2 separate regions of the Homo sapiens genome follow, and region 2 is linked to region 1. Evidence: promoter capture Hi-C in human tissues and cell types (Jung and others, 2019). All regions are on one chromosome and are shown on one strand. The core of a region is centred on a gene start or on the middle of the fragment in contact, and the rest is flanking DNA. Distances in the headings are between cores, read along the strand shown.

Region 1 (3,584 bases), core at 282-2,781:
GTAATTTGTGCTTTAAATTATTTTCTCAGGTATAAACAAGGGATGTAAATTGGCCCCATCTATCTTATAGGCTCAATCTGAAAATGAATTGAATACTTGCTAACAACTTCCAAAGACCTATGGCTCTGTTACACAAAGTATTTGAATCTTTCTCCTGCTTTCCACCTGCCTGTGGTCTTCTTCCTGTCCTTCCCCCTCCCTGCCTCCTCCCAGTTTCCTTTCTCTCCACCGAGGATCTTTGCTCTTCAGAAACCTCAGGGCACTTACCCAGAACCCCTACACTAGCAAGAATCAACCCGTGTTACTTTTCTCCCAGTTCCAAGTCCAGTTCTCTCACATCCATCTGGGAAGACCAAACGTTGCTTTCAGAGGTGGCAATGAGGTGTGACAGAGCTGAACACAACTAACCAAGCTTTCACAGGAAATTTTTTACTTGGAAAGCAGAGCCCGGGAAACCAGACATGATTGCACAATACACCAGGCTACCCTCAGGGAAGCAGTTGGATCAGGTAGGTTGGGGGCTGGTCAACGGAGCCACAGGACAATGGAGAGAAGCAATTAAGCTGGTAAAATGTTAATCAAATGGCATCCCCAAAAGGTGCAAAGGAAATGAATGTGTGAAGCTGCCGCCACATGGCATGTCTAGCCACATCTCACAGCACTTCCTCATTGGCTATCAGTCCCCTCAAGAACACCCTGGCTCCCTGGGCATCCAAAAGCAACTGTGATGCCTAATGCAGGTCACTTGGACTGGGATATCCAGGACCCAAGCCGAGAGAAGAGTTTTCAAAGGCGTGGGGTGGGGGAAGTGAGCACAGGACTGTTGCTCAGTTCGGTGACTGATTTCCGTCTCCACTTAGCAGTCACTTCCCACCGAGTTAATCATACTGCCAGTCTGGAAGGAAGGGAGGAGTGCAACTGGCAAAGGAGGTGAGTAATCTTGCCTCTAAAGGAGGAACTCCGAATTTGAGCACCAAAAGTACCTCGCAGCTTTACCCAGACCCTAGCATGGGAATTTATGAAGAGCGCAGGGGGTGAGGAGACCTCCTCCTGGTATGGAGTGAGGGATATATACATATACTCACTCTCCACTTGTTCCCCTAACACACACACGGAGACACACAACGGCTGCTTTTACGGAGTAGCTTAGACCGCACCGACCTGTCCCCTTCCTGCTCCGGTGGCGCCACCCCAGCTCGATTCCCGCGTGCGTCCCTGCCCGCGCTGGCTGCCGCATGACTCTGCCGCCTTGCTCCCGACACTAGGCTCAGTGCCAGGCCTCTCTGCATCCCCTGGGCGCTCGCTCCCTCCGCCAGCTCCCTCTGGGCCCAGTGTGCCAGGTTCCCGGGTCACAGCACCTGCCCCTCCCCAAGGGTCCTGCGGGCCTGGTGCCCTCCTCACCCGTTCTCCATGGTCTCGCAGACGCCTTCTCGATGAGCCTGCTCCGGTGTGCTCCGATCCGCTCCGATCCGATCGGATCCGCTCCGCTATGCTGAACTGAGCAAGGCTGCCGGGTCTGGTTCGCACAGTTGGCTCACTGGTCTAGGCTCTGGCTTATATCCCTTGCCCTGGAGTCCCCAGCCAATGGCAAGCGAGCACGCGGGCCGGCCCTGTCTCCATGGTGACACACCCTAATTCAATCGGCTGAACCTGGGCTGTAAACCTAATCAGAGTTCTTCCCAGCCCTAAACCTTCTGCCCCGGGGCGGGCGGGGGGAGCCGGAGCGCACCCAGCATTTCATCTCGGTACCCATTCCAGTCCGCAGGGCAGGAGTTCCCAGCAAGAAGGCCTATGCGGAAATAGGGCTAGAAGTAGGGAGGAGAGCCCCCAGCCCTCTCCTTGCAACCTCATTCCAGCTGTGTCAATAGCAAACCGTGAGAGATTCAAAAAGGAAAAATTTCATACCTTAGATTGTACAACCCCAGAATAAAAATGAAGCGAGACTGTGTCTGAGTTGCTCCCTGGACAAGGGAAGCTGGGTCGCCCCCGGCAACAGTGCTAACTTGGAGGATACAGGGTTTAGGAGAGCACATCCAGGCCCAGACCGGGAGAAGAAAAAGTTCTCAGGCAAGAATTCCGGGGTCCTAGATGCCGACAGAAAGGATAAGGATGGATTTGGTGGGTAGGGACACAGATAATCCCTTGATCTGCGCAATATTGATCCAAGCAATTCAGGTAACTAGAGGACTCCTCCCACGAAGAAAATTCTGTTATCGGAATACACGGGTACCAGAATATAACATAAATAGCGTGTCTTTGGTAGAATACAACTATTACTTCTGCCCACATTTACAATTTAATTTTTACATTTAATTTACATTTTTACATTAAATTTACATTTAATTTTTAATTTAAAAAATTAAAAAAAAATTTATATATAAAGGCCAGGCGCGGTGGCTCACGCCGGTAATCCCAGCACTTTGGGAGGCCGAGGTGGGTGGATCACCTGAGGTCAGGTGTCGGAGACCAGCCTGGCCAACAAGGCAAAACCCCATCTGTACTAAAAATACAAAAAATTAGCTGGGCGTGGTGGCAGGCGCCTGTAATCCCAGCTACTTGGGAGGCTGAGGCAGGGAGAATGGCTTGAACCCGGGAGGTGGAGGTTGCAGTGACCTGAGATCACACCATTGCACTCCAGCCTGGGCAACAGAGTGAGTAGCTGGTTCCTGAGAACTTACTAGCACTTTGAAAATAACAATGCACACAAATTGAAAAAAAAATTTCGTTCTTAAATAACCACAAACAGTTACTTACGGGATATGTACATCTGTTTGGCACTACTCAACTTCTCACATGCAGGAATCCAATGCTGCCACCCTCATTTTCTGTTCCATGCTGATTTTTACACAGTACTTTTTTTTTTTACTTAATACTTAATTTTTATCAGAGGGACCTTCTAAAACCATCTTTTGTAAAGATATGTTGTCTTTATATATATATATATTTTTGAGACAGGGTTTCACTCTGTAACCCAGGCTGGAGTACAGTAGCACGATCTTGCCTCACTGCAATCTCTGCTGCCTGGGTTTGAGCCATTCTTTTGCCTCAGCCTCCCGAGTAGCTGGGATTACAGGTGCCTGCCACCATGCCTGGCTAATTTTTGTATTTTTAGTAGAGACGGGGTTTTGCCATATTGGCCAAGCTGGCCTTGAACTCCTGACTTCAACTGATCTGCCCACCTCGGCCTCTCAAAGTGCTGAGAGTATAGGCATGAGCTACCACACCTGGCCAGATATATTGTCATCAAAAGGAATGTAGCACAATCTAATGTTCCAACTGTGAATCACCTCAAGTTAATAGGTCACACAGTGTTTAAGAAATATAAAATATTGCTGTGTTTCCTCTGAAAATTAAAAATATTCCACAATACCCTTGTGAGCTTGTACTTTGGCACAGTTTGGGAACCATGGCCCCAGTCACTCCATGCCACCTCATTCCTGAATCTATGTAGTGTAAATGAATGGGCTCTAATAAAACTACCTGTGTATGAATGCCATCTTCACCCCTTATTTACTCGTGTGATTCTAGGCAAGTAAAATTCTTATTATGCTTCAATTTTTTCATCTGTAAAATAGCAATAATCT
Region 2 (3,584 bases), core at 681-3,180, 1.0 Mb before region 1:
GAGGCTGCAGTGAGCCAAGATCGTGCTACTGCACTCCAGCCTGGGCTACAGGGAGACTGTCTCAAAAAAAAAAAGAAAGAAAAAAAAAGTTAAACTAGCAACTGGCCCTTGTCAACCCCATTTTCATCCATGAAAACGTTAGGATTATAGGATAAGCCCATGCAACAGCCACTGACAATTCTTGGTAAAAAAAACTGATGCAAATGGTCCACACCACTTTTGAAAATAAATATAAAAGTCCTCAAAAAATGGCAGATGGTTCAAGACTTCAGTTTCTCAAAGACAGAAATTTTTGTCTGTTCCACCATTCTCTTTTGCCTCTCCCAAACAAGTGATACATATCTATATTATGACAATATTTCAACCAAACTTTTTTAACGAACACTTCAGGGTTTCATCATAACCTTTACTTCTACTTTAAAACAGCATAAGAAACTATAATTACAGCTGTTTGACAGCTGGGGAAACTGTGACATACAAAGATGAAGTAATGTGCCCAACGTCTGAGTCACTGGCAAATTGAAACACATGTCCTACTCAACTCTTTTATATTCTCTAGCAGCTATTTCCTTTCCTCCTGACATTAGCAAAACAAGCTGACACCATGTAGGTAAAGGTAACCACAAATTTTTTATCAAAGTAGGAAATTTAGGCCGGGCGCAATGGCTCAGGCCTGTAATCCCAGCACTCCGGGAGGCCGAGGTGGGTGGATCACCTGAGGTCAGGAGTTCGAAACCAGCCTGGCCAATATGGTGAAACTGCCATCTCTACTAAATATACAAAAATTAGCCGAGCGTGGTGGCGCACGCCTGTAATCCCAGCTACTCGGGAGGCTGAGGCAGGAGAATCGCTTGAACCCAGGAGACAGAGGTTGCAGTGAGCCGAGATCGCACCACTGCACTTCAACCTGGGCGATAAAGCGAGACTCTGTCTCAAAACAAAAGAAAACCAATAAGCTCCTCCCCTCAACCCCAATTTCTTCAGCTGCTGAAACATTTTCTTTCCACTGCGATCCCCTAAGATTACTGTAGCTATTTCTCCCCAGAGAAAGGAGACAATTCCACTCTGTCTTCTAATCCAGAATCCCTTTTCTCTTTAAACAGGTTATCTCTTTCCAATACCTTGCTTTCTGATGACAGCAACTTCCCAAGACTTCCCCAGATAGTCCCCACAGGCTCTAGAAGCAACCGCCACTTTTCTCTAAACACCAATTGCGGCCCTTGGTTCCCAGCCCCCGTCCCCGGAGTCCGTGCTCTCCTCCCCACTACCCTACCCCACCGCTGCCTCAGGCCCTACCCCCGCGGCGTCGGCAGCTCTGGCTCACCTCGGCCCCTGACAGGAAGGGGTGCGAAGGCCCTGTGATCGTCAGGTAATTGTCATTTCCTCCGGGAAACTGGAAACCAAAAGAAAGTCGCGGGGATAAGTTAGGGGGAGCAGGGAGTCAGCTTGGAGCGATGGCTTTTGACCCTGACATTCTGACAACACTCCCCAAACCCCGCTCTCTCTCCTCTCCCGTCAGTCGCCTCTCCGCCCGGCTTCCCGTCCCTGCTTCAACCCGGTCGGCCGCGTTCTCTCGCCAGCCTTCTTAGCTATCAGGTTCCTACCTCCATCTTCACACAACCGCTCCCACCGTCTCAGACCCTCATCGCTCCCACCGCCCCCACTGGACTCGGAACTGCCGTCACTTCCGCAAGGACGTGTGTTCTCTCTGCTGATTGGAAGGAGCGCCGTGGGGCTGCAGAGAGTCAGGCGCTGGGCTATCGCCCCCTGGAGTTTGGAGGGATAAGGGCATGTAGAAGTGCTAGAAGCGTCCCTGGAGGTGGCGTAGGGTACTCCCGACCTAAGGATGATTCCGGGGAGTGCAATAGAGACGTGATCTGGGCTAGAGGAGCCGGAGGGGCGGGGGAGCGGGGGGAAGGGGGAGAAGAAGAAGATCGGTAGATTGAGTGGCTAGAGAGGTCGGAGGTAAGTGGCTATAGAAGTCGGGCGGACCCGGAACCCAGAGGACGCGACACCATGACTTATGCTTATCTCTTCAAGTATATCATCATCGGAGACACAGGTAACCCTCAGGTGGTTCGCCTTCAAGGCTCGGGCGGGCATTCGAAGCTCCCAAATTGGGTGGCGGGGGCGGGGCTCACTTTGTGGGCTGGGCGATTCGAGACGGGCGGGGCGGTTCGGGGCGGCCGGGGGCGGGGCTCGGGAGCCCCCCTTCTCTGGTCCGGGAAGTCCATACTCTGGAAGGTGTTCCAGGGCTGCGTGATTCCGGGAGTGTGCTTTCTCTTTCAGGTGTGGGGAAGTCATGTCTCCTCCTGCAGTTTACAGATAAGCGGTTCCAGCCTGTCCACGACCTCACAATAGGTAAGTGCATCTACTTGTTCCAGAACAGATGATAAAACCTGACTAGCTAAATTGCTAAAGTGGAAAGTTAGCAGCCTTCAGTGTTCGAAGTAAAAAGTTACCCCTCACTACTTTAAACTAGTCCAAACTTATGTTAATGAAGTGACCAATGAAACGTTGATATGTGGGGAGTAGTGTAAGGGAGAGTATATAATTGAAAGGTAACTTTTTAGAGTGTGAGGTATAGACTCGTCATATAATTTTTTTTCAAATACAATTTGTATGTTTATGGAAAATCCCACGAAAGCATAACTGCTTATTTATGAACTCATCTGTGCTTTGAGGTAAATTAATACCAGCCTTACTTTTAAAAAGTAAACACCAATACATGGACATTTTTTATATTGGTGAAGAAGCAAATTGAGGAGTCATCCCTGCCTTAGAATTAATAGGCAAATAAAACTAAAAACTTTCCTTTTAAATGAAAGAGTGTGTTAACAGTTCCTCAAACGCACTGGCGATCCTGGAAAATATTAACCTTTCCCACACGTTTGTGATAAGGCATGGCCTGAAGAGGCTTTTAACTACCCCCTCTTCGTTATCTCCGTAACCCCAGTCCAAATAAACAACATATATGAAACTAGCTTTCTTGCCATGCAAATGCAGTTTCTAAATAAACCCCTACATCCCCATTCTTACCATATTGCTACTTCCAAGTCCCACCTGTATGGAAACCTGAAGCTACCACTGTTCCTAACGGATTTATTTAGAGTCAAATAATTGATGGGGTTAGAAAAGGATTTGGCAGTATCAACTAAAAGGTATTTTAAAGGGAATATTGAGCGAATTCTCACTTTGCGATAGGGGCTAATGATACAATGCTTAACAAGGCAACAATGCTTAATTGTGCCTCTGGCAATTATTGGAAATGTAAAATGTATTGTTAAAAAAATTAGGTGGGCGTTGTGGCGTGTGCCTGTAAGGTACTTACTTGGGAGGCTGAGGCAGGAGAATCACTTGAACTCAGGAGGTGGAGGCTGCAGTGAGCTGAGATCGCACCACTGCACTCCAGCCTGGGTGACGGAGCGAGACTCCATCTCAAAAAAAAAAAAAAAAAAGTATTGTTTCTGAGAACCTATTTCTTAGGCTCTTTTCTTAAAGAAAAACATCTGGAATTGCAAAAAAATAAATATTGTTTTAAGTAGAGACTAAAGAGTGACTGAGAAAGTGTCAGGAAATATTTC

What was found. Contacts are between HindIII fragments. The study calls those that stand out against the background at their distance.
Region 2: the fragment with the promoter of RAB2B here is called in contact with the fragment with the promoter of PNP in region 1 in 1 of the 25 tissues and cell types used here (stomach).

What each region holds. Positions count from the first base shown.
Region 1 is chr14:20,467,353-20,470,936 of GRCh38, reverse strand. It overlaps PNP (purine nucleoside phosphorylase), which reads right to left and starts at 1,531. Exons shown (of 6, transcript NM_000270.4): 1 at 1,402-1,531. The coding sequence starts at 1,412. RefSeq lists enhancers at 840-969, 1,000-1,069, 1,260-1,764 and a silencer at 1,480-1,599. The HindIII fragment of the contact is 8,414 bases long and covers 1-3,584 here.
Region 2 is chr14:21,475,305-21,478,888 of GRCh38, reverse strand. RAB2B (RAB2B, member RAS oncogene family) reads left to right here and starts at 1,930. Exons shown (of 8, transcript NM_032846.4): 1 at 1,930-2,062; 2 at 2,290-2,361. The coding sequence starts at 2,017. It overlaps TOX4 (TOX high mobility group box family member 4), which reads right to left and starts at 1,694. Exons shown (of 9, transcript NM_014828.4): 1 at 1,605-1,694; 2 at 1,325-1,393. The coding sequence starts at 1,610. RefSeq lists enhancers at 1,744-1,813, 2,394-2,513. The HindIII fragment of the contact is 11,571 bases long and covers 1-3,584 here.